Linked DNA regions of Homo sapiens: all the other regions are linked to region 2. The links are contacts of gene promoters, found by promoter capture Hi-C in blood cells and fetal thymus (Javierre and others, 2016). All regions are on one chromosome and are shown on one strand. Each heading gives the region's core, a stretch centred on a gene start or on the middle of the fragment in contact. The rest is flanking DNA. Distances are from core to core; before and after follow the strand shown.

Region 1 (3,792 bases), core at 987-3,486, 450 kb before region 2:
TCCTGTGTCTGGAATGTTTCCCCCTCTGTCAGAGTCTCACCCACCATTTCAGTCTCATCTCAAAAGCCTCCTTTTCATTAATTGTCCCTGACTCAACCACAAGAAATTGTCTCTCTTCACTGAACTTTGTAGCTTTTTGTACAGCACCTGTCCACAGTTAATCTCATTATTAATAAGTGGTAGTTACGTTCTATAAAGTCTCCACAAACACTGATTTAGCAAAGAGTGAACAGCGACTTGCTCCTAGAGGAAACGCAGGGTTAGGTTCCCACGAGCTTCTGCCCACGATATTTTCACCAGCCCATCAATACATGGCCTAGTTTTACGTGTTTCTGTTTCAAGACACTTTATTCATGAACACTGAACTCATAACCAACAGGGCTACAGCTCGCGCATGAACAAAGCTCTCTGACACATGTATTTTCTCGCTAAGGCCCATCCTGGCATTCTTGGGCTTAGAACACTCGACAGCATTTCCGCACAATGTTGAGGGCATTTTAAATGGCAAAATCACCAATACAAATGCAAAAAACATATCCCTAAATAGACTGCAGAAAGGACACTTGGTTCACAGTACAGGAGCTGACACAAGAGGCAGACCATTGTGTAGCTTGACCTGAGATGGGAATATGACCATTGGGTGACTCAAGTTTGTCACTGTTCTACCCATATCTGCAAAGGACTATGAAAGTGCCATGACCATTTTTAGTGAATAGGGAAATTCACAAACGAATCCACAGATAATGATTGACTGTACTTGCATGCTTATTTCTCCTTTATAAGCTCTAAGGTGGTGACTGTCTCTCGTGTCATCAAACACACTGCCTGACCTATGGCAGGAATGTGATACTGAAAAGCATTTGGGGAAAATCATAGAAAAATTAAGCTAGACCCTGTCATCAAATTCATAACGTAACAAAATTTGTTGCCCACCTACTATGTGCCAGACCTAAGCTGGAAGCAGGGTATAAAGCAGTGAAGAAAATGAGAGAATGTGGCTAAGATTAGGAAGACTAGCAAAAGGAGGAAGTAGCAAATTCAAAATGTGAAATTTTTGAAATATAAAGATGATTGTGCAGATTGAGAACTGAGAAATTACTATTGCTACCTTAGCACAAACTGGAATCAAAAGGACAAAATGACAGTTGGCCTAAGGTTTTCAGTGAGTACTACTTATTCTTTACTCGTTTCCAAATTTGGGAGCCCCTTGTTTCTTGTAATGTGAAGCCAGTAGTTACCTGTTAACTGTTAGCATATTAATAATAAACAGAGGCCAGGCGCAGTGGCTCATGCCTGTAATCCCAGCACTTTGGGAGGCCGAGGTGGGCGGATCACTTAAGGTCACGTGTTCAAGATCAGTCTGGCCAACATGGTGAAACCCCGTCTCTACTAAAATACAAAAATTAGCTGGGCATGATGGCAGGTGCCTGTAATCCTAGCTACTCAAGAGGCTGAGACAGGAGAATCGCTTGAACCCAGAAGACAGTGGTTGCAGTGGGCCGAGATCGCGCCACTGCACTCCAGTCTGGGTGGCTGAGCTAGACTCTGTCTCAAAACAAAAACAAAACAAAACATAATAAACAGTAGAAAAGAAAGAGATTATGGTTAATAAAGAGAGCAATACAGGTGGAAGTTTAAAAATCTTTGCTGTGTGTTTTTGTCATTCGATATTGAATATAATCATGCTTTGAGATACTTCATAACAAAAATCACCTATTATCATTCACTGGAATGGAAACTGCATATATTGCTTCTCATTCATTACCTTAGCAGAGCTTGGTTGTCTGGGTTAGCAAATTGGTGTTCTAAGATGTGTATGCTGTTTTATTACAAAAAGAATTTGGCAGTTCAGCAAAAGGGCACGTGAAAGACTTGTGTTAAAAACCAAAAGGTAGTAGTTAAGACTTCAATTCAGATTAATAAAATGTGGGCTTGTTTCATGTCACTCACTCTCAGGCAATGTGTTGGCTATCAGACCCAGTGGAGTTTAACCAGTGAGAGTCCCTGCTCTCTGCTGCTCATCGTTTAGTCAGAAGCCTGTCTCTTCACCTTTCTTGGGAAAGAATAAGACAGGATTTTTACATACTTTGCATTTAATTTTCTTCTTTCTTTCCTCTTCTCTTGACCAGTGTTCTCCAGAAAAATATTCTCCCATGTCCCTCTGCTTCAATTTTGAAGAAAAACAAAAAAGGACATTCATTATGTCTAAGAAGAAGCCACTCAAACACTTTGGTCCATGAAAAAGCAAACTTTAAAATTTGAAGTAAAGTTAGATGTAACAGAGGCCTCAGGTTGAAATGCCAATTTCTGAATTTTCCAGAATATCCACAAAGATCTCTACTTCTTCATCCCCCTCTGGCACCACACAGAAGATACCAGAAACATTATTTTTGGGTTTCATTGTTACATTTATCTATCCCAATAGTATGATTGTGCCTTATTTCAGTTTTCCAAATGCAAAGCGTTCCAGCTAATTAGTGGGCTGGCCTGGGAACCTACTGCTTCTAATACTAGTTCTAGGGGAAAATACATACTACATTCAAAATGGCTGTACCCACTGGTTAACTTGAATAAATGTTAGAAATTAACTTGGCCTTCATGTTAAGAGTCGTTATCATCAAGTCTGGGTGCGGTGGGGCACGTTTGTAGTCCCAGCTACTTGGGAGGCTGAGGTGGGAGAATAGCTTGAGCCTAGAAGTCCAGGATGGGCAAAACAGTGATACCCTATCTTAAATAAAAAAAGAATCATCATCAACTACTGACCTTTTGCCATGTATGAAGTTATTTGCTATGGGGACACAAAGACACACCTGTCCTGACAGTCATACCTTGGAGATATTGCAGGTTTGGTTCCAGACCACCATAATAAGGTGGGTATCACAATACAGTCAGTCACATGAATTTTTTGGTTTCCCAGTGCACATAAAATTGTTTACACTATTCTGCAGCCTATTAAGTGTGCAATAGCATTATGTCTAAAAACAAAATGTACATTCCTTAATTAAAAATACTTTATTGCTAAGAAATGTTAACAATCATCTGAGCCTTCAGCAAGTCATAATCTTCTTGCTGGTGGAGGGTCTTGATGGCCGCTGATTGATCAGGGTGATGGCTGCTGACCGATCAGGGTGGTGGCTGCTGAAGGATGGGGTGACTGGGGCAATTTCTTAAAATAAGACAACAATGAAGCTGGCTGCATCGACTGACTCTTTCTTTCATGAAAGATTTCTCTGTAGAATGTGATGCTGTTTGGTAGCATTTTACCCACAGTAACGTGGAGTCAATCCTCTCAAACCCTGTGGCTGCTTATCAACTAAGTTTATGTAATATCCTAAATCCTTTGTTGTCATTTCAATAGCGTTCACAGCATCTTCGTCAGGAGGAGATTCCATCTCAAGATACCACTTTTTCTCGTCCATAAACAGCAACTCTTTATTTGTTCAACTTTGATCATGAGAGTGCAATTCAGTCCCATCTTCATGCTCCACTGTTAATTCTAGTTCTCTTGCTATTTCCACACCTGCGGTGACTTCCTCCACTGAAGTCTTGAACCCCTCAAAGTCATCCACGAGGGTTGAAATCAACTGCTTTCAAACTCCTATTAGTGTTGATATTTTGACCTCCTCCCATGAATCATGAATGTTCTTAATGTCATCTAAAATGGTGAATTCTTCCCAGGTTTTCAGTTTACTCTACCCAGATCCATTAGAGGAATCACTATCAATGGCAGCTATAGCCTTATGAAATGTATTTCTTAAGTGATAAAGACTTCAAAGTCTAAATTATTCCTTC
Region 2 (3,673 bases), core at 243-2,742:
CTTGGCTCACTGCAACCTCTGCCTCCCGGATTCAAAGGATTCTCCTGCCTCAGCCTCCCAATTCGCTGGGATCACAGGCATGCGCCACCATGCTCGGCTAATTTTTGTATTTTTAATAAAGACAGGTTTTCACCATGTTGGCCAGGCTGGTCTCGATCTCCTGGCCTCAAGTGATGCACCTGCCTCGGCCTCCCAAAGTGCTGGGATTACAGGCGTGAGCCACTGCGCCCGGCCTCATAACCTATAAAGAAATAGATTAGGGTTTCGCCATAAAAACTAAAAAAAAAAAAAAAAAAAAAGGGAAAAGCCACTTTTAAAATATATCATCAAAGGAAGAAAATAAAAATAAAAATAAAATCATCAAAATATTTCACTGAAGCCTTAGGTAGTTGATCAAATACCGAAGGTGAGTGGAAAGCCGTGGGTCTGGTGTAGTCGTCTGGCCCTGGCTGAGACACTAACTTCTCTGTATCTCAGTTTTCTCTACTCTAATCATGGATTTGAAAACATGAACGTGACACTGAGGGGACATCATCCCCAAATGCTCCCAGCCTCTGAACATCCACTTCCATTATGTTTTTAAAATGAGATGAGGAAGCAGCCGTCCTGGCCGTGGCCCTGAGATTCGGTGCTTTTCTCCAGCGGCAAGGCTGCTGCTGACGGCACATCAGCAGTGGCCTCAGCTCTGGGCGATCTTCCAGCTTTGGGAACAACACCTCTGACTGATCCTCAACACTTCCTACTTTCCTGCTTGTGCCCGACAACAGCCCAGGATGGGTCCGGGTGAACCCCAAGGGCTCTCTCAGACACAGAGACCAGGATTTCAGCCTCCTGGGCACCAGGCTGTCAGCTCCTCAGTACATGTTTCTCAACACAGGGATGGGAAATGTACCTTTCGTTCTAGTGCTGAAAGAAAGACGCGCAACTCCGCCCTCCGTTTTTGTTACCAACCTCTGTGCTGCGGAAATAATTACTGGGCTCGAGACTAACATCCCTTATGGAGCTGAGGGTCCCAAAACAAGTCCAGAGAAAGCAAACAATTACTGGTGCAATGACAGGGTTCTATCGCGCTGTGGTGGAAAGAACCCAGACTGTGAAGGCAGGAAACCCGAAACAGTCGGTCGCAGTTGCGCCCTTACCTGAGAGGTGACTGTGGCAAATCCCACAACCTTTAGAATCTCAGGGTCCTCATCTGAAAACACCTCCCCCTCCCAGAGTGGTCATGGGAACTGAATGGGCTGAGGGATGAGAAGGGGCTCTGCCGCCCTCTAACAGACACCCCCCCAACACCTTTGTTCTTCTTAAGCACTACAGTGCTAGTCAGGACTCCTTAGGAAAGACTGTTAACGCTCTGGGTCCCAAAACCTAGCACTAAAGACAACTGAGCAAAGCAAAATCAGAAAATAATTTGAGGAAATGTTCATTAGGATCTGGGTCACCCGGAACCAGTTTCTCTCGCCAAGACCTCCTTCCTGCGGAAGCACCCTCTCTGCGCCACGCTCCATGGAGGCGCCAAGGAGAAGGCCTGGGAAGGGAAGAGTGAACCTTCCCTGGTGGAGGGCCCACTCCTCAGGCAGTGGGGAGACCGCCTTTTGCATGCGACAGGACTTACCAGGTAGCGCTCCTCCTGCCTCATGCTGGGGGTGCGGATCATGTGATTTTGTTCCCCTCTCCAGTCTCCAAAGCGACGGAAAAAATAGTTGGATAAGAACCGGTTGACGGGGTCTCTAATGATGTTGATGTAGACAGGCTGGTCTCCTCCAAACCTAACACAAACATTGAGTTCGTTACAACCCATCACTGCAGGACGAAAACAGGGCCTACTTAGACAACATCTCCCCTTCCCTCTAGGTTAACTTATTGAAAGATGACCTCCTATGCTAAGGTGCCAATGACACGTAATAAGCAAACGGTGTTTCCTGATAAGCATTTTATTATCATGCAGGAAGTGGGGAGGATGATACCTGTTCCAGGTACCTGTTGAGGGGCTGTGAGGACATTTCATAGTATAGCACGGTACAAACCACACCATTGTGCATGTTAAGGAAGAGATGGTGTCTAGTTTTCTCACCAGGCTGTAGGTTTCTTGAGGATGGGGGCCACTCTGTATTGGATTTAGTATTTCCAATGGCTAGAACAGAACCCACAGGGACACAATTGGCCCTCGGTGAATGTTTCAGTTGATTGGTAGGTTCTGACTGCCTTGCTGGGTGAGACGGCACTTCCTCTATATTGTAATTCAAACAGTTCCGGGTCAGGTGCTCTGCAGTAAGGGAGTGAATAACAGCCAGTCTTCACTGAGCACTCGCTATTCACCTTGTTCTAAATACCTCATGTAACCAGCTTGCTGAAGCCCCATAACACGTCAATGGAGTAGAAAAAATAATTATCCTCATTTACACTTGGGGAAACTGAGGCAGGAATAAGGTTCATAACTTGTAGCTGAACTAGGATATGGGTCCAGGCAATCTGGCTCTAGAATCTATGCTCTTAATTATGGAAAAGTGATTTCTGGAGTTGAGGAAATTTTGTGTGGGATATCAAGAATGAAACAAAATTCAACATAATTATCCTCAAGTGATGGCAAGTGGCTTCAGATAAAAATAAAGCAAATAGCCAGGTGTTCCATTTTAATTCCTTCCATGAAAGGATTAGATGAATCCACTAAATCTTGGCCCAAGAACAAGGTCTTCCCGAAGCAGAGTGATGAGATTGGCTGGATTTCTCTTAATGATTCCTTCTTTTTCTCTTTGAACTGCTTGAAAGCAGTAGCCTTGAGGAGTTCGGGGAGAGTGCCCCAGTCTCTGGGCAGAGGGCATGCTCTGGTGACCTCCTGAGGGGCCTGCAGGGTTCTCTAGCCCTATGGCCTCGTGACCTTCTGAGGAATGTGCCTGGACATTCTGTCAGGGGTCAGAAAGAACTAAGAGAAAACAAACTGACAGGACCCCGCTCCTGCCTCTCCCCAGCTGGCAGACTCCATTCACCTTTCAAAACCCAGCCTGGAGTCACATCACATCCCTCAGCAATTAATGCCCAACCCAGGGTCCATGCCTCCCTCCTCTGTGCCCTGGGCCCTCTCTCTTGCACTGTGTGGAAATGTGTGCCTCTCCCATCAGACTGTGGGCCTCCTGCAGCCAGGAACGACACGCTCTAGCTCAGTGTGTGGCACACAGTAGGTGCTCAACAAATGATGACCAAATGAAGAAATGAACATCTGAGTGTGTGCCTCTCAGTTGTTAACGTTTCTTCCCATATCATGGGGCTCTGTTGTCAGAGGAAAGTAATAACAAGCCCCCATCCTTTTCTGTGTATGAATTCATATAATGTTGTTCCTGGTTTATCTGCATTTTTAAAAAGAATCTTCAGAGAGAAGAATCCAAAGGAACAACTCTGAGATAGTGGAATTTCAGGCACCAGGACATATGAATGACACCCTGGAGCCCTTAAATACTACCACATTGGAACACACACTGCTCATGGGTGAGATTAGCCTTGCAATGCGAATCTTGTTAGTTCTCAGAAATACACATTCATGTAACTGGATGAACAACTAACTGGAGTCCCAGGAGTTAGCTGTGCCAACCACCAGCTAACTACTGTACACACCCCAGATTTATCCCCCTTTTAAAATTAAATTGGGTTTCATATCTATGATAAACAGCAACTAAAGTAA
Region 3 (3,621 bases), core at 603-3,102, 390 kb after region 2:
GATCACAGAATCACAAAATGTAAATCAAGATTTTCAGAAACAATGCATCCATATATAATTAGAGCCCTGTCAAGAAAAAATGGCATTTTTATTTGGTAATACATCAAGGGCTTTTGGTACCGTTAATAAAGTAAAACAATTTATTTTCATTATTGTTTATTTTGTCTTCATCTCATACTTTTAAATCTTGTTTGTTTCATAATAGGTATTAGTATAGTAATACACTTGAACAAAATTTGTCAGTAAATAAATGCATCTATATCTGTGGTATGTATTCAAAGCTTTGTGTAATGCATGTAAGGTCAAAAAAGTTTGGGGAGCACTGAGATTATAAGCTATCATTTTTTCAGGGTTTTTTTATTAGACAGGGTCTCGCTCTGTTGCTGATGCTAAAATGCAGTGGTGCAATCATAGCTCACTGCAGCCTCAAATTCCCAAACTCAAGCGACCCTCCTGCCACAGCTTCTCAAGTAGCTGGGACTACAGGCACACACCACCATACCCAGCTATTTAATTTTTTTTCTTTTTAGTAGAGATGAGGACTGCATTACTGTGATGAGGTCACACCATGTTGTCCAGGCTGGTCTCGAACTCCTGAGCTCAAGTCATCCTCCTGCCTCAGCCTTCCAAATTGCTGGGATTACAATTGTGAGCCACCACACCCAGCCACTTTTCAGTGTTTGCATAGGAAATTCTTGGACTAGGGATTGCTCTGTCTAAGATGGCCTAGAAGGAGCCACATTATAGCCTTACTGCTCCTCCCTGTTCACAGCTATGGTCTTAATATCAAATGTGAATTTACACACTTTATCTCCTTTAGTTCCATGAGGTAATAATTAGCTGTGTTTTACAGATGAGAAAATTGAGAGTCTCTCGGTTTAGTAACTGGGGCTATATTTAACTATAAGTGAACCCAGGTCATACTGACTCCAAAGCACATGTTCTTATTATTACCCTGCCTTGAGTTTCCATAAGAGTAGGACTTCTTACAACTCAATTTTTCATTCCATGCATATTCTGCTTTACTATCCCTAAGACGTATAGTTTTTTGACACTTGAAAATCTCAGAAGTTAGGCTGCATCTTATAACTGAGGGGGTCTCAGCCCTGCTCCTGCCCAAGTGGCAGTCCTAATGCAGGAGTCGCTGTCTGTACACATGGCCTGTGCATGCTTTCTGACATTCTGGGAGCGTGAACGGTCTACTGTAACTGCACGTGGTTTCAGCCCACAAGCAATTTAAGGACATGGGAATCCGGCGTGTTGAGAAACATGATCTTTTTTCTAGGTTTAACACCGTTGCTTCCTTTAACCATTCCTAATGGGGTTTTCCTAATAAACCATGCCCAGTTTATTTCATGTCTTTGTTCCATTTCTTTCATCTGTATAGAATGTTCTTCCCTCATTCTCTTTCTGGTTTGTTCTCCTCCAAGACTCAGAGTTCAAGAGTCAGATTTAAGAGTTACCTTCACACTAGGCACGGTGGCTCATGAGCTTGAATCCAGGAGTTTGAGACCACCCTGGGCAATATAATGAGACCTTGTCTTTATGAACTTTTTTTTTTTTGAGACAGGGTCTTGCTCTGTCGCCCAGTCTCGAGCGCAGTGGTGCAATCATGGTTCACTGTGGCTTCAACCCCTCTGGGCTCAAGTAATCCTCCTATCTCAGCCTCTGAAGTAGCTGGGATCACAGGCGCATTTCACCACATTCAGCTAATTTTTTTAATTTTTAGTAGAGACAAGGTCTCACCATGTTGCCCAGGCTGCTCTCAAACTCCTAGACTCAAGCAATCTACCCACCTCAGCCTCCCAAAGTGCTGGGGTTACAGGTGTGAGACATCGCATCTGGCCCCCCAAAAATTAAAAAATTAGCTGAGTGTGGTGCTGTGAGCCTGTAGTCCCAGTTACTGGGGAGGCTGATGTGGGAGGATTTCTTGAGCCTTCAAGGCAGAGGCTGCAGTGAGTCGAGATTGTGCCACTGCACTACAGCTTGGGCAACAGAGTGAGACTGTCTCAAAAAAAAAAAGAGTCACGTTCTTGGTAAAGCAGTCCCACAGCACTTAACTAACACAGGTTTCTCCCCTCTCAGTGTCCACTATCACACTTTCAGCTCTTAGAGAGGGGGCCTCAGCCATCGCTATGGCCCTGAACATATAGAACATGTGTAGGTACCACCCTGGACCCTCATAAAGCCTTCATCCCACACATCCCAATCTCTCTCTCTCATGCCCCACCCACTAGTTGAGCTTGCATGTCATGGACGGAGCCCCTTTCTTCCTGTTGGCCTTGCAGTGTGCCCTTCAGTGTGCCCTGCAGGGCAGCGTGCCACTGCCCTGTTCTGTCTGCGATCTGTATGTGATGAACTGCTTCTGTTTCTTCATGGGCTCTGTGCAACTGCTCTTCTGTGTCTCCCCTGACTTCTCTCCTGCTCAGGGCTCTCCTAGAGAGCGGCCATCTTGGTGGGAATAAACTGCACACAGGTCAGACAGAAGCCACAAGGGGACCTACCAGTATCAACAGGTGTTCTGTGAGAGGGACCCCTGGCCGTGGGTCACACATTTAAGCATTAGGTTGTCTGCCAGAATAAAGAGGTACTCCACGAAAGGCTCACTGTAAACATCCATGATGAAGTTCCCTGGAGCGCTTCAAGGGCAGGGCTAAAGTTTGTGGCCACTCTCCTGAGAGAGACCACAAGACCAAATTAGAGTAAAACACAACACCTACTGACCAGGGTGTCAACGGTGAAGGGGTCAAAAACACCGCTAAAGAATAGCCTAAGGCTGAGAGTCCTGAAGGAAGAAACACACTTCAAAGGGGGGCCGATTTGTGTCCCCCAGAATACATGCACTGAAGTCCTACTGAGAAGGTGACCTTATTTGGAAGTGAAGCCATCACGGATATAATTAATTAAGTTAGGATAAGGTCATGTGGGAACAGGGTGTGCCCCTGATCCAATGTGACTCGTGTCCCTTATGGAAGAAGGAAATGTGGACACAGACATGCACACAGGGAGAACACCATGTGCAGATGAAGGCAGTGATCGGGATGTTTCCACAAGCCAAGGAATGCCAAAGATTGCCAGCAAAGCCCCAGAAGCAGGAGCAGAGTCTCTCTCCCAGCCCTCTGAAGGAACTAACGCTGCCCATACCTCCTACTTAGTTATGCAGCCTCCAGAATGGGAAGACAATGCATTTTTGTTGTTTAAGTCAGCCAGTGCGTGGTACTTTGTTACACCAGCCCTACAAAACAACTGCAGAAGCCTCCTTCCCCAAAACTGCTAGTCAGGCCTCACTGGGAAGGTGTGGCTGCTACCCGATGGATGATAGATTAGTTTCCTGAACTGACCCAGGTCAGAATTGGTCCAAGTCACAGGGCTGAGCTGGCAGGAAACAGCCACTGCCTCTCTCAGGCTGGCAGAGGAAGCTTCCAAAAGCCTCCTGCTGGTGCCCGTGGGCTGTGGCTGATAGGCAGGAAAGGGCAACATGGAACTCACTAAGAACTGTAGGGTGCCACCGAAGCTTGGTTCGGGGAGTACCAGTGGATGCCCACCTCCTATGTCACTGGTAGCCGTGCAGGAGGAGCAATGAGAAAGGAAAGGAAGCGTGCTGGGTGCTAGGAAGAGAAG
Region 4 (3,724 bases), core at 601-3,100, 380 kb after region 2:
CAGTTGTGCGTCCATGACAAAAAGGAAAACGTTAGGTGAAAAACTCGCAATATCTTCTACTATAAAGACACAATAAGTAATATAAAATATTCTCAATTTATTTGGAGAAAATAACCCAATTTCTGTATTTGATTTTTTTAAGTTGCATATCCAGGAGGGCTAAATGGCAATAGATAATTTTTTTTTTTAAGCAAATGACATTTTCAGAATAGAGTAGCCACATGTCCCAAGACAGAATCCACATCATTTACTGCCTGTGCCAGTGCCATGGCTAGGCAATCTGTGAAAGTCTCCCCTTTGTTTTTCTTCTTTTTCCTGTGTGCACCCCTATTCTTTCCCTCTGAACCTTATTTCCTCCTCCCCACCAGTTTCATTTTCACTTTTGTGTGGTTCCATTCTCACCTGTTTTGGGCATGAATGGACAGGGGCACCACAGACATCACCAGCCCCCCTCACTTTGGTGGCCCTTGAGCTGAAGGAGGAAAAAAAGCTGTTTAGTGGAGCTGAGAGGGGGCTGGGCACAGATAGTGCCTGGTTTGTCCCAGCCCCGACACTTTCCAGCTCTAGTTGACCCAGGACAACTTTGCTGCTCATTTTTCCCACTGGTTAAGGTCCAGGTGTATACAGGAATACGTTGGAGATATTGTGGGTCCTGTTCAAACCACTGCAATAAAGTGAATGTCACAAAAATGCACGTCACAAAAATTTTTTTGTTTTCCCAGTATATCTAAAAGTTATGTTTACACTATACCACAGTTTATTGTGTGCAAAATCATTATGTCTAAGAAAACAATTCACATACCTTAATTTAAAAATGCTTGATTGCTAAAAAATGCTAACAATCATCTGAGCCTTTGACACATTGTAAGCTTTGCCAGTGGAGGGTCTTGCCACAGTGTTGATGGTGGTAATTGTTGCTGAAGTTTGGGTGGCTGTGAGGCAATTTCTTAAAGTAAGACAACAATGGAAATTGAGGCATCGATGGACTCTCTCTTCCTTTTATGAAAGATTTCTTTGTAACGTGAGATGCCATTTGATAGCGTTTTACCAATAGTAGAATTTCTTCCAAAATTGGAGTAAATCCTCTCAAGCCCTGCCACTTCTTCATAAACTAAGTTGACATAGTATTCTAAATCCTTCATTGTCATTTCAACAATGTTCACAGCATCTTCACCAGAAGTAGATTCCATCTCAAGAAACAACTTTCTTTGCTCCCCATAAGAGGCAATTCCTTATTCATTCAAGTTTGATCATGAGATTGCAGCAATTCAGTCCCATCTTCAGGTTCCACTTCTGATTCTAGTTCTCTTGCTGTTTCTACCATATCTGCAGTGACTTCCTCCACTGAAGTCTTGAGACCCTCAAAGGTACCTATGAGGGTTGGAATCAACTTCTTTCAAACTCCTGCTAATGTCAGTATTTTGACTTCTCATAAACCACGAATGTTCTTAATTGCACCTAGAATGAGAAATACTTTCTATGAGGTTCAATTTGCTTTGCCCAAATCCATCACAGAAATTACTATTTATGGCAGCTGTAAGCCTTATAAAATGTGTTTCTTAAATGATAAGAGTTGAAAGTCGAAATTACTCCTTGATCCATGGGCTGAAGAATGAATGTTGTATTCACAGGCATGAAAACAACATTTATTTCCTTGCACATCTCTATCAGAACTGTTGTGTGACTAGCTGCATTGTCAATGAGTGGTAATATTTTGAAAGACATCTGTTTTTCTGAGTAGTAGGTCTTAACAGTGGGCTTAAAATATTCAGTAAATCATGCTATAAACAGATATGCTGTCATCCAGATCCTGTTGTTTCTTTATATAGCACAGGTGGAGTAGATTTAGCATAATTCTTAAGGGCCCTAGGATTTTCAGAATGCTCAATGAACATTGGTTTCAACTTCAAGTCACCAGCTGCATTAGACCCTAACGAGAGTCAGCCTGTCCTTCAGTGCTTTGAAGCCAGGCATTCGCTTCTCCTCCTATGAAACTCCTGGATGCCATCTTCTTCCAACAGAAGGCTGTTTAATCTACATAGAAAATCTGTGGTTTAGCCGGGCACGGTGGCTCACGCCTGTAATCCCAGCACTTTGGGAGGCCGAGGCAGGAGGATCACGAGGTCAGGAGATCAAGACCATCCTGGCTAACATGGTGAAACCCCTTCTCTACTAAAAATACAAAAAATTAGCTGTGCGTGGTGGCGGGTGCTTGTAGTCCCAGCTACTCAGGAGGCTGAGGCAGGAGAACGGCGTGAACCCGGGAGGTGGAGCTCGCAGTGAGCCGAGATCGCGCCACTGCACTCCAGCCTGTGAGACAGCGAGACTCCATCTCAAAAAAAAAAAAAAGAAAATCTGTGGTTTAGTGTAACCACTTTCATCAATGATCTTAGCTGTCTCTCCTGGATAACTTGATAACTTGCTGCAGCTTCTACATCAGCATTTACTGCTTTACTTTCCACTTTTATGTAATGGAAATGGCATCTTTCCTTAAACCTCATGAACCAATCTCTGCTAGCTTCAAACTTTTCTTCTTCAGCTTTATTACCTCTCTCAGCCTTCATAGAATTGAAGAGTTAGGGCCCTGTTCTGGATTAGGCTTTGGCTTAAGAAAATCTTGGGGCTTGTTTGATCTTCTATCCAAACCACACAAACTCTCCATGTCAGCAATAAGACTGCTTTACTTTCTTAACATTTGTGTGTTCACTGGAGTTGCACTTATAATTTCCTTCAGGAACTTTTCCTTTGCATTCACAACTTGGCTAACTGATGCAAAAAGCCTAGCTTTCAGCCTATCTCAGATTTTGACATGCCTTCCTCACTAAGCTTAATCATTCCTAGCTTTTGATTTAAGGGTGAGACTTGTAACTCTTTCTTTCACTTGAACACGTTAAAGACATTGTAGGGTTCTGAATTGGCCTAATTTCAATATTATTGTATCAGGGAATAGGGAAACCCAGCAAAAGAGATATAAGGGGGAACAGCAGATTGGTGGAGCAGTCGGAACACATACAACAGTTATTGAAGTTTGCCCTCTTATCTGAGCATGGTTGGTGGTACCTCAAAACAATTGCAATTGAAACATCAAAGATCACTGACCACAGATTATCATAATAGCTATAAAAATAGTTCAAAAGTTTGAAATATGGAAGAATTCAGTGGTCTACAGTCAGAGCTCTGATCTCACCCTGGGACAGGGCCTCCTGTGGGGAGGGACAGCCACCATCTTTGTGGTTCAGTCAACTCAGTGGTTCCAGCCTGCCAGCTTTGGAAAGTCCAAATGGTCCAGATAAGAAAAGTCTCCCAGTGCAGCACAGCCACTTTGCCAGATTGTGGCCAGACTGCTTCTTTAGGCAGGACCCAGATCCATTCCTCCTCACTGGGCAGGACCTCGCAGCCAGAGCTTCAGCCACTCCAACCAGTTTTCCATAAACAGAGCTCTAATTTCCCCCTGGAACAAAGTGCCCAGGGGGTGGAGCAGGCCACCACCTTGGCTGTTTGGACTTCTCACTCAGCCCAGCCTGTGGGTCCTGGAGACCCCATACCAATCGGGGCTGAAGGGATCCCCAACACAGCACACCTGCTCTACCAAAAAGCAGCTGGATTGCTTACTTAAGTGAATCCCTGATCCCATTCCTACTGACTTGGTAAGACCTCCCAATACGAGTCTCCAGCCACCTCTTACAGGCACACTTGGGCTGGCGAAAGGTCAGTATCCCCCTGG
Region 5 (3,595 bases), core at 1,036-3,535, 350 kb after region 2:
GGGAGGGGGATGGAGAAAGGGGCCTGATGGGAACAAATGGAACATCTGGCCGAAGAACTCAGATTTCCTCCTTTGGATTTTCCCTCTCTCAAGTGCCATTCATTGCATAACCTCTGATGATCAGTTATGATCCTTGGAAGTAAAGCCAAGTTGTTGGTCATACTGTCAATATTTCTTCGGTACTATCATTTGTATTGTGAAAGCCATATGAAGGAAAAAAAGAAAGAAAAATTTTAAATGGCCACTTCTCCCAGAAAGTTTGCAACTTGCAATATTTATAAAGGTTATTAGTGGGTTCTGTAACTGGATGTTACTTCATTTCTTTAATAATTAATCAAACATGAAATGAATCTATTATTATGGATAATTATTTAATGAAACCATTAGCATAAAGTTCCTAAAGCAGAATGCCAGCACTTCAACTGTAATTCAAAGATGTGTTTTTCCCTTAGAAACTACTTTATAGACAAGATGGTTTCTAAAAAGCAACACTTTTCACAGGAATAAAGCAGCACATCTGCTCCTAAGCCCCGTTTTTCTCCTCCTCCTTCTGCAGGTTCCTACCTTCCCCTCTCTGCTTCATCACTTCTCAAAGCACTGCTACAGAAAGTTGATATTAAACTTAGAGTTGTATTAAGATATTAAACTTAGAATCATGAGTTCTGATTCTGAGACTCTCCAGGTACTAGAACTGTCCCTGGAAACTTACCCCTCCTAAGAACTAGGAAAAAGTTACTTCCAAGCATTGGAGAAATTCAGATTGTTCTTCAGCTGCCTTAGGAGATAGTTTAATGTTCCCTTTTATCAGACCCCAGAAGCAAATCAGTAATGGAGTCCCAAATTAACCTTGTCTTTTTGATTCAGTATGAGCTGGGCCCATTGGAATTACTGTCAACCAAGGCCCCCTGGCAAAGACAGGCCCTAACTCAGATCTGGGAGGCAAAGTTAAGACCAGAGGTCTCCCAAGCTTAGGGCTGGCCTACATTAATTGCTTGCTTAAATCTTCATTCTTTACATGTTCTTCTTCTTCTGCTCTGTTCCCTGGACACTCGTGAGGCATTGGAAATTGTACAGCAAGCAAGAACCTGTAGAGAAAAGGGACAAGGAGCCGTGGGAATAAAGTGGCCAACCACAAAATGATCATGATACTTGATGACAAAGGAAAAGGGACAGCTCTACAGGAGATGAAAGAAGATTCCATCCAAGCTGTGGAAACCTTATGAGCAAGAGGAAAGTCTGTGAATACAAGAAATATGGCAAGCCTGAAGCCATATCTGACACATGGAAAGTGGCCATGGCAGGCCCACAGTGGCCGAGTGGCATCCAACTGGCCAGGCTTCACTCACTCAGTCTCAGCAGCCCTGCCAGGACCACGGAAGGTGGCTAAGGATGGCTCTCCAATCAAAGCTCACTGGATTGTCAAGAAATAGAAACCCACTGAAGCTAGCTCAACTGCAGAGGAGATTTATGACACTGAGATGCGTCTTGGAATCTAAGGTTGGTAAACAAGATACAAACCCTGACTTCTAGGATCTGCAAAGCTTCCAGGAATAAAATTTCCATTTGTCTGTGCCAGTGTGGCCTCTTCTCTTGACTTCTCACTCTATGCTTCCTCCACCCCCTTCTCTCCACAGGTTCATTTCCTCATCAGGCTCCATGATATTCAAAATGCTCACTCTAAGTCTGAGGTTCCCATGACTTTCCTGCTTCTAAGCGCTCTTGACTGATCAAAGTCTCTGTATAAAATAGTTTGAATTTTGAGAAAATGAAAGAAGGAGAATTAATTCTTCCTGGGAGACTTGGTAAAATCTTCAAAGGAGCTGATTTACTGCTATGCTTGGAAAAACATACTGAGTTTTTACAATAGATAAGCATGGAACAGCCTTTTTTCAAAGCATTTTGATATTTGAATCTCCCAACAGTGCCATGAAGTATGTTGAGCAGATTATTTATATTATATAAAAGAGAAAACTAAGTCCTACAAAAGGTAAATTAATTGACCAAGGCCATGTAGCCAGTGTGGGATAAATTCCAGACTAGATCCAAAGTTTTCTGACTTTTAATTCACTGCTTTTTCTATTTGTTCATGTGTAGACATGAAAGAATGGGTCTCTTTCATTGCCACTGATAAAATAAAAACTTCAGCTGAATTAAATTTAAAAGAGTTCAATTGAGCAATGAAAGATTTGTGAATTGGGCAGCCTCCTGACCCAGAGTATGCTCAGAGACTCCAGTGCAACCATGTGGTGGAAGACAATTTATGGACAGAAAAAGGAAAATGATGTACGGAAAAGGGAAGTGAGGTACAGAAACAGCCAGATTGATTACAGTACACCGTTTGCCTTATTTGAACATGGTTAGAACAGTCAGCTACATTTGATTGGCCAAAACTCCATGATTGGCACAAGTGTGGGCTACGGTCTGTGTACACCTCCATTTGTTATAGTTCATGATGCACAGAGAAACCTTTAGGCTGAACTTAAAACATTGTCAGGAGGCAGCTTTAGGCTAAACTTGATTTAATACTATCAATAGCCCTAGAACTGGGACTGATACTACTATAATTTTAACTTGCCTTTCTCAAGTTCAATCTCTGTCACCTCCTTTGCAAAAACTCATATATTTGTAGAACATATCTGTCCAACTCATGATGGGAAACCAATGCCATATTTAAACAATTTGATTTGGGAAGAGTTTAATAAAGAGATTATTTAGAGGTGCAGGCAGGGTTTAGGGGAACCAACAAAGAATAGTGCAGGATTCCCAAACTGGCAACAGCACAGATCCATCATCACTACCCCTTGGTCTGAGGGGCAAAATGAGAGCCGAGTCACCAGAACATCGAGAGGGTAGCACGGAGAAGTCACCTGGTAAAAGCTGTGGCTTTCACAGAAGGACGCAGCCAACCCCTGCCAACAACCACCCTCTCTTCCAGCTTTCAGAACTCCTGCCAGTGGGCCCACTGATTCATTGGCTGATTCCACTGGAAGCCAGAGGGTATGGGGAATCCTTGTTGACATTAAGCTTCCTAAGGCAATAGAGAGAAACTGAGGCTGGAGAGGCAAATGACAAACATCCAGTACAGGGAATAAGGGGAGAAATTCAACATGGGAGGCCAGGCGTGGTTTCTGATCTGTTTTGTGTCACTCTCCTTTCTCACCCACACAGGCCTCTAAAACTGCACTAACACATGCATACACACACGTGCACACACACCCCATTCTCCTTCTCCTTTCCTCTTGCTGTTTCCTTTTATATTTTGGAAATCTGACCATTCAAGTCAGTGCCCTGGGTTTTCAGCCAGGAATCCACTCCAGGTCAATGGAGCCAAATCAACTGGTCTCTTGGTCATTGCAAGTCCTGAACTGAACTTGAGGATGCATGCCTGCCAAGGTGAAGGATGAGTTGCAAAGGAAGCACTTATATAATTCTATAGTATTCCAAACCCCGTCCTTTTCAAGACCTTCTTGGTATTGTCAGAGTGGCAGCTCTATGGGATCATTTTGAGGAAAACATCTTGGCGATCCAGACTGAGGTTTTTCATAAGCTCTGGCTGGGTGAGCCAGTGACACCATTGTGGACCAGCTGCAACCAA
Region 6 (3,494 bases), core at 21-2,520, 470 kb before region 2:
AACAAGATATAATTAACCCCAAATCCCACCCCCACCCAGCTTGAATCAGGAAGAGATAGAAATCTTGAACAGACCAGTAAAAAGCAGTGACATTGAATGAGTAATAAAAAATCTCCCAACATTAAAAAGCCCAGGACCCAGTGAAATCACAGCCGAATCCTACTAGACATTCCAAGAAGAATTGCTACCAATCCTACAGAAACAATTCCAAAAGATCAAGGAGGAAACCCTCCCTAACTCATTCGATGAAGCCAATATCACCCTGATAACAAAGCCAGGAAAGAACATAACAAACAAACAAACAAAACTACAGACACTATCTTTGATGAACACAGATACAAGAATCCTCAACAAAGTTCTAGAAAAGTGAATCCAACAGCACATCAAAAAGATAATTTACCATGATCAAGTGGGTTCCATCCCAGGGCCCTGGGATAGTTCAACATATGCAAGTCAATAAGTGTGATTCACCACATAAACAGAATGAAAAACAAAACCATATGATGATTATCTCAACAGATGCAGAAAAAGTATTCCATAAAATTCAGCATCACTTTATGATAAAAACCCTCAACAAACTGGGCACAGAAGGAACATAGCTCAAAATAATAAATGCCACATACAACAAACCCACAGCCAACATCATTCTGAATGGGGAAAAGTTGAAAACATTCCCCCAAAGAACTGGAACAAGACCTGGATGCCCACGTTCACTACTTCTATTCAACACAGTACTGAAAGTCCTAGCCAGAGAAATCTGGCAAGAGAAAGAAATAAAGGGCCTCCAGATTGTAAAAGAGGAAGTCAAACTATCTCTGTTTGCCATGATATGACCTTATACCTAGAAAACCCCAAAGACTCATCCAAAAGACACCTAGATTTGATAAACGAATTCAGTAGAGTCTCAGGTTATAAAACCAATGCACACAAATGAGTGGCACTGCTATACACCAGCAATGAACAAGTTGAGAGTCAAATCAAGAACTCCACTCGTTTTATAATAGCTACCAAAAAGGCCGGGCACGGTGGCTCATGCTTGTAATCCCAGCACTTTGGGAGGCTGAGGCAGGTGGATCACCTGAGGTCAGGAGTTCGAGACCAGCATGAACAACATGGAGAAACCACATTCTACTAAAAACACAAAATTAGCTGGGCATGGTGGCACATACCTGTAATCCCAGCTACTGCAGAGGCTGAGGCAGGAGAATCCCTTGAACCAGGGAGGCAGAGGTTGCAGTGAGCCAAGGTTGTGCCATTGCACTCCAGCCTGGGGCAAGAAGAGCAAAACTATGTCTCAAAAAAACAAAACAAAAACAAAAACAAAAACAAAAACAAAACAAAACAAAACCTAGGAATATACTTAACCAAGGAGATGAAAGTTCTCTACAAAGAGACCTATGAAAGAAAGTAGATGAAAGAAATCATAGATGACATAACCAAATGGAAAAACGTCCCATGCTCATGGGTTAGAAGAATCAATATTGTGAAAATGATCATACTGCCCAAAGCAATCTCTAGATTCAGTGCAATTCCTATCAAAATACCAAGGTCATTTTCCACAGAATTAGAAAAGCCCTCAACCTAAAATTCACACGGAACCAAAAAGAGCCCATATAGCCAAAGCAATCCTAAGCAAAAAGAACAAATCTGGAACAAAAGAGCAATCCTAAGCAAAAAGAACAAATCACTACCCAAGTTCAAATTATATATTACAAGACTATAGTTGCTAAAACAGCATGGTACTGATACAGAAATAGACACATAGACCAATGCAACAGAATAGAGAACCCAGAAATAAAGCCAAATACTTACATCCAACTAATCTTCAAAAAGCACACAAAAACACAAACTGGGGAAAGGATATTCTATTCAGTAAATGCTGCTGGGAAAATTGGATTGCTGCCTTTAGAAGAATGAAACTGGATCCCCATCTCTCACTGTATACAGAAATCAACTCAAGATAGATACAATACTTAAATCTAAGACCTGCAACCATAAAAATTCTAGAAGAAAACCTAGGAAAAAGTCTTCTGGACAGGCCTAGGCAAAGAATTTATGACTAAGACCCCAAAAGCAAATGCAGCAACAACAACAACAAAAATAAATGGGACCTAATTAAACTAAAAAGCTGCACAACAAAAGAAATTATCAACAGAGTAAACAGACAACCTACAGAATGGGAGAAAATATTTGCAAACTATGCCTCTGATAAAGCACTAATATCCAGAATCTACAAGGAACTAAAATAAATCCGCAAGAAAACAACCCAAATAATCACATTACAAAAGTAGGCAAATGGCATGAACAGACATTTCTCAAAAAAGATCTGCAAATGACCAACAAATGTATGAAAAAATGTTCAATGTCACTAATCATCAGGGAAATGCAAATTAAAACCACAATGTAATACCACTTTACCCCAGCCAGAATAGCCATTACCAAAAAGTCAAAAAACGATAGATGTTGGCACTAATGTGGTAGAAAAAGAATGCCCACATCCTGCTGGTGGGAATGTAAATTAACACAACCTCTAAGGAAAGCAGTATAGAGATTTCTCAAATAACTAAAAGAAGATCTACCATTCAATCCAGCAATTCCACTCCTGCGTATCTACCGAAAGGAAATTCAGTCATTAAATACTAATAAAAAGAAGACATCTGCACGCGTATGTTTATTGCAGCACAATTTACAATTGCAGACATATGGAGTCAACCTGAGTGCCCATCAACTGATGAGTGGATAAAAAAATGTGGTGTCTGGCCGGAAGTGGTAGCTCAGCGGTGGCTCACACCTGTAATCCCAGCACTTTGGGAGGCCGAGGTGGGTGGATCACTTGTAGAGGCCTTGTAGAGGCCAGGAGTTCAAGACCAGCCTGGGCAACATGGTGAAACCCCGTCTCTACTAAAAATGCAAAAAATAGCTGGGCATGGTAGTGCTGGGCATGATGTGATAACAGCACTGTCCTCGGCTACGGGAGCTCCGTGACCCCGGGCCCCGGCACCTCAGGGCTGTCGTTAAGCTCCTCGCAGAGTAAGTCGAGGGGGCACGGTTGTCCCACCTACAGAGGGCACTTTGCTGGCACTAATCTCAGTGTGGCTGTGAGTCCAGGCAGGCTTGTGGCTGTTTTCAGCCCATGCTGGGGGTTGTGGCCCACGACAGTGCTGTTATCACCTCAAAGGCTGTGACAGTGGCTGCCAAACACCCATCGCTCTTGCCCCATGGAGAAAATATCAGGGATCCAAAGTTGCAGCTGACCCAGCCACAAAGCCACTGGGCCATGAGGCCACTGAGCACTTTTGTGGGTACAGGACGGACACGGTCTCCAAATGGAGGGAGACAAAGAGCCTGGAGCCACTTGGAATCCTGGGGATCCTTGGTGACCCATCACCTCAGCTTGCCCAGGACCGTCCCAATGTTAGTACTGAAAGTCCTGCATCCTGGGGGACCCCTCAGTCCCAGGCAAACTGGATGAGGGTCACCCTGATTCCTCACAA
Region 7 (4,104 bases), core at 1,362-3,861, 430 kb after region 2:
GGGGCTATGAGGAAAGGAGAAAGGTAGAGTGTTGTTTTGGCAGTGGGGCTCCCAGACCCTTCTGAGTGATGGCACCATCAAGGAGAAGCAAAGAAAGAATAAACGCCCCATTCACAAGGTGAGATTAGGTCATATGTTTTTCGGAGATCTGTAAGACTTGTGCTTGAAGACAGTTATGTTGCCAACTTTCCAAATTTGGGAGCTAATATTAAAGTGTCAAATGAAATAAATTTTATTAGCATTTAGGAGCATTCTTAGCCCTCAGCAACACGTGCTGAGGGCTCTTGTATTAGCTCAGCAAGAGTAAGGCTGGCAAGACGAGGCACAAACCCCAAAACTCAGGACAGGCCAGTGGCAAATCTTCTTTTGTTTTTGTTGTTTGGGATGAGTTAGAGGTTGTTTTTTCTTTTCTGCTTCTCCTTTTGTCTTGTGCCAGCACATTTTTGTCTCCTGCATATAAGTAAAAGCTGGGGAAAGCTTAGGAAACCCTCGAACTTGGAAGCTGAGTAACAGATACATGCTTGCTGGTATAGATAAATGGATGACTGAAAACTGAATGTCCTCATTCTGAGTGGATAAAGAAAATGCAGTACCTATACACCATGGAGTACTACTTGGCCATGAAAAGGAAAGAAATAATGTCTTTGCAGCAATTTGGATGGACCTGGAGGCCATTATTCTAAGTGAAGTAACACAGGAGTAGAAAACCAAAATCCACACGGTCTCACTTGTAAGTAGGAGCTAAGCTATAAGCACATAAAGGCATACAAAGTGATATAATGGACTTCAGAGAGTCAGAAGAGGAAGGGTGGGGGGAGTCTAGGGATAAAAAAACTACACATTAGGTACAATGTATACTACTCAGATGATGGGTGCACTAAAATCTCAGAATTCACCACTATATAATTCATCCATGTAACCCAAAACCACTTATACCCCCAAAGCTACTGAAATAAATAAAAAATAAAATAAAGAAAAAAAAAGGAAGACCTCATTCTGAGGAAGGCTTTTAAAGAGAAGCATCATTATTTGTCAACTGTGCCTCAACAAAGCTGGAGGGGAAAAAAAAAAAAAAGCAGCATCGGACGCTTCTGTTGAGTGAATCTGCCCCAAGTAAATCACGTGGAAAGCCACGAGGGCCTTCAACACCCTAGCAGCATCACCCGGCATGTTGTAGAAAGGGCACATGGAGCCTTACATGGGACACTGAGGTTACACGCAGAACATCTTTGCATTATTATGCAGAGTAAGTAAGTGCTTGGTCACATAAAACAGAAACCAAGAAAACATTTTCTACACAAAATAGCTAGTTGCAATGATGAATGGCTTTATTTTCCTTTCTTTTCATCCCCCACCAACTTCCCCACTCCAACCACATACACAAAGAAAAAAAGAAATCAATAAGCCAGAAATGTGATGCCTTTTCTCAGGTCATCAAAATAAAAATGCGGGGAGGCAGAAGGCTCTGGCAGCTCTCCGGCTGTCCACCACTTCCTGCTTGCATTTCTCACGGGGAAAGCATTTTACAGCCCCAACTACAGCAGAGATCGTGGCAGCGTAAGTCCCTCAATTAGAATCCCAAATTAAGAGTGCTACTTTTAAAGTGACTAATGAAAAATTAACTAATTGGAAGCACAAGAGCAAATACTGTCCCCCTGACCACCTAAAAGTGGAACATTCTAGAGCGGTGTCCTCACTGTGTGGAAGAGCCTGTGGCTTTGCAGTGGCCTTTGTTCTGGCCTAGCATGTTATTTAGAAAAATGATACTTATAAAATGAGGGCTTTGTGCTATCCATTACAACCCAGGGAGAGGAGTCGGTGTACTCTGTCCCTGGTGACATGGTTCAGTGCACCACAGTGGCCAAAACAGACTCCAGAGTGCTGGGTGGGAGTAACACAGAAGACCTGCTCCTACTGCAGCATGGAAGTATGTGCTGTGCCTGCATCTTTGGGGACCCCAGCCTCAGCAGACACAGCAGAATACCTGAAATTATTTTGGAGAAGGAGGGGATCCATTGTGTCACCTGAAAACCACAGTTGGCGTAAGGAAGGGGGCTAGAATCGCTGTCTTCATTAGGGAGAAGAGAAAAAGAGGTGAGGTGCCTCTCCTCTGTAGTGCAGAATCAAGACCATGACCTTTTCCCACACTTGTCAGCGTGGGTGCCAAGGTACAAAAGGTAAGAAGGAAGATAAGCTAGAACGCTGAAAATTCTCACAGTCAAATCACAGCAAAGTGCTAGGTTGTGAGGCTGTAACCCCATTTGAGCATGACCTGAACTTTGACCTGAAGGGACTCTGCTTGGGCTAAGCTCTCTCTGCCTCCAGCCTCACCAACCACACACACACACACACACACACACACACACACACACACACACACACACACACACAGAATATGCTAAGACACCTATGAATATTCCAACATCAAAAGGTAGTGGTACCCAAAGGCACATAGCATTGCCTGGGGAGCAGTTACCTTGGGAAAGAAGAGAAGGGAATGGGATTCTTTGAAAGCAGGACTTTCTGTGGGCTTACACCATATTTCTTAAAATGTAAAAGAAATAAGAAAATATGGCAAAACATTAACTTCAGCATGTGCATGCATATGTTTGTTTGTTTTCTTTTCCTCTGTACTTTTCTGCATGTTTGAAATAATTCCTAATTAGAATTCTTATACAAGTTATTGTTTATACTTAGAAATGGCTAAGACAGTAAACTTTAGATTATCTGTATTTTACCACAAGTAAAAATTCTTTTAGCAATTTGTAAGAGGCTTTCATTTGCCAGACCTAAGATAGTGGGTCTGGGCTTGGCGTAAGGAATAGCCATCTGACAATTAGAGTCTTTTCCCAATGGAACCCTATATGATGGCTGGCATTTTCCCACGCTTCGAGGGAGGCTGGACGGGTCTGACTTCCAAGTAGTGCTGGAAATGTACTTTTTGCTCTCAGTTATGGCTAAGCTAGAAACCTTTCAAGATCCCTACATATCTTCAAAGATCTCAATAGACCTCTGCATCTCCCTAGTGTATGGAAATCTTGTTTGACAGAAACCTATCATGTTATCAGTTAGAGGCACTACTTCTTAGCCACGATGACTTTAACTGTATTGGATGTAAAAATCCTATAATGCTAGGAAAAGTCTGGACCCTGACTCTTGGCACTAATGGGTACTCTGGAACCTTGAAGCCTTTGTTTTAGAACCAATAAAAGGAAGTACAACTTTATCTATCAGGGACGTTCTAAACACCAGAGCAGAATAGATCCACAATGGAATGTCTGAAGAGGCAAAGAGGTCTTCTTCACCTTCCAGGTTAGCAACCTGATGGATAGCGATACCCTCCTACAAAATGCTCCTTGGTACAAAAATCTCAGGATGTGATCCCAGGAGGAATGATGGGTCTCAGCCAAAGTGGCATGGAGCAGTCTAAGCACAGATTCCTGCCTTACACTCAGGAGTTAGCTTTTCTCCTCCAAAGCTGTGGATGATAAAGGAAATGTCATGGAGAGTATATATAAACCAGCTGTTGGTTGGATGCAGTGGCTCACACCTGTAATCCCAGCACTTTGGGAGGCCGAGGTGGGCGGATCACCTGAGGTCAGGAGTTTGAGGCCAGCTTGGCCATCATGGTGAAACCCCGTCTCTACTAAAAATACACAAATTAGCCATGCGTAGTGGTGCATGCCTGTAATCCCAGCTACTCGGGAGGCTGAGGCAGGAGAATTGCTTGAACCCGGGAGGCGGAGGTTGCGGTGAACCAAGATCGCACCACTGCACTCCAGCTTGGGCAACGAGAGTGAAATTCTGTCTCAAAAACAAAACAAAATAAAACAAAACAAAACAAAAACCCCAGCTGTTCTTGGTGACTGAGGAAGAGCAAGTGAGCTGTTTCTGGGCAGATGTGGTTCGGGACAATAGATGCTTTAATACTGATTCATACTAATTGAGCTGGTAGGCTACACCAGTTACCGTGCAGGCTCTTTACACGCAACCTGGCCACAGACCCCAAAGTGTCTCTTGGGCAATCAAATACTTACTTAAAAGACCTTGTTATAAAGTGATATTAACTATGAATCACAATTGCCTCCAAATCTATCCCAAATC

Evidence for each region. Contacts are between HindIII fragments. The CHiCAGO score rates a contact against its expected background, and 5 or more counts as called.
Region 1: a contact is called between a fragment that was not itself captured here and the fragment with the promoter of UST-AS1 in region 2, in 4 of 17 cell types (total B cells, naive CD8 T cells, naive B cells and 1 more). The highest score is 6.4, in total B cells.
Region 3: a fragment that was not itself captured here is called in contact with the fragment with the promoter of UST-AS1 in region 2 in 15 of 17 cell types (naive B cells, total B cells, megakaryocytes and 12 more); the score reaches 28.9 in naive B cells.
Region 4: a contact is called between a fragment that was not itself captured here and the fragment with the promoter of UST-AS1 in region 2, in 10 of 17 cell types (total B cells, naive B cells, M1 macrophages and 7 more). The highest score is 15.1, in total B cells.
Region 5: a contact is called between a fragment that was not itself captured here and the fragment with the promoter of UST-AS1 in region 2, in 7 of 17 cell types (naive B cells, M1 macrophages, total B cells and 4 more). The highest score is 10.5, in naive B cells.
Region 6: a fragment that was not itself captured here is called in contact with the fragment with the promoter of UST-AS1 in region 2 in 1 of 17 cell types (naive B cells); the score reaches 5.2 in naive B cells.
Region 7: a fragment that was not itself captured here is called in contact with the fragment with the promoter of UST-AS1 in region 2 in 6 of 17 cell types (naive B cells, total B cells, fetal thymus and 3 more); the score reaches 7.9 in naive B cells.

Annotation. Positions count from the first base shown.
Region 1 is chr6:149,416,798-149,420,589 of GRCh38, reverse strand. No RefSeq gene overlaps it. Among named protein-coding and RNA genes, the nearest start is that of SUMO4, 18 kb to the right of the region's middle. The HindIII fragment of the contact is 4,936 bases long and covers 1-3,792 here.
Region 2 is chr6:148,962,503-148,966,175 of GRCh38, reverse strand. UST-AS1 (UST antisense RNA 1) reads left to right here and starts at 1,492. Exons shown (of 3, transcript NR_038408.1): 1 at 1,492-1,615. UST (uronyl 2-sulfotransferase) reads right to left here. Exons shown (of 8, transcript NM_005715.3): 5 at 1,613-1,766. RefSeq lists enhancers at 1,451-2,027, 2,028-2,604. The HindIII fragment of the contact is 7,762 bases long and covers 1-3,673 here.
Region 3 is chr6:148,570,445-148,574,065 of GRCh38, reverse strand. No RefSeq gene overlaps it. Among named protein-coding and RNA genes, the nearest start is that of UST, 170 kb to the left of the region's middle. The HindIII fragment of the contact is 3,138 bases long and covers 284-3,421 here.
Region 4 is chr6:148,587,301-148,591,024 of GRCh38, reverse strand. No RefSeq gene overlaps it. Among named protein-coding and RNA genes, the nearest start is that of UST, 160 kb to the left of the region's middle. The HindIII fragment of the contact is 1,957 bases long and covers 872-2,828 here.
Region 5 is chr6:148,613,526-148,617,120 of GRCh38, reverse strand. No RefSeq gene overlaps it. Among named protein-coding and RNA genes, the nearest start is that of UST, 130 kb to the left of the region's middle. The HindIII fragment of the contact is 1,483 bases long and covers 1,544-3,026 here.
Region 6 is chr6:149,436,373-149,439,866 of GRCh38, reverse strand. No RefSeq gene overlaps it. Among named protein-coding and RNA genes, the nearest start is that of SUMO4, 38 kb to the right of the region's middle. The HindIII fragment of the contact is 9,116 bases long and covers 1-3,494 here.
Region 7 is chr6:148,536,064-148,540,167 of GRCh38, reverse strand. All of the region lies in intron 16 of SASH1 (SAM and SH3 domain containing 1), which reads right to left. Among named protein-coding and RNA genes, the nearest start is that of SASH1, 200 kb to the right of the region's middle. The HindIII fragment of the contact is 4,264 bases long and covers 480-4,104 here.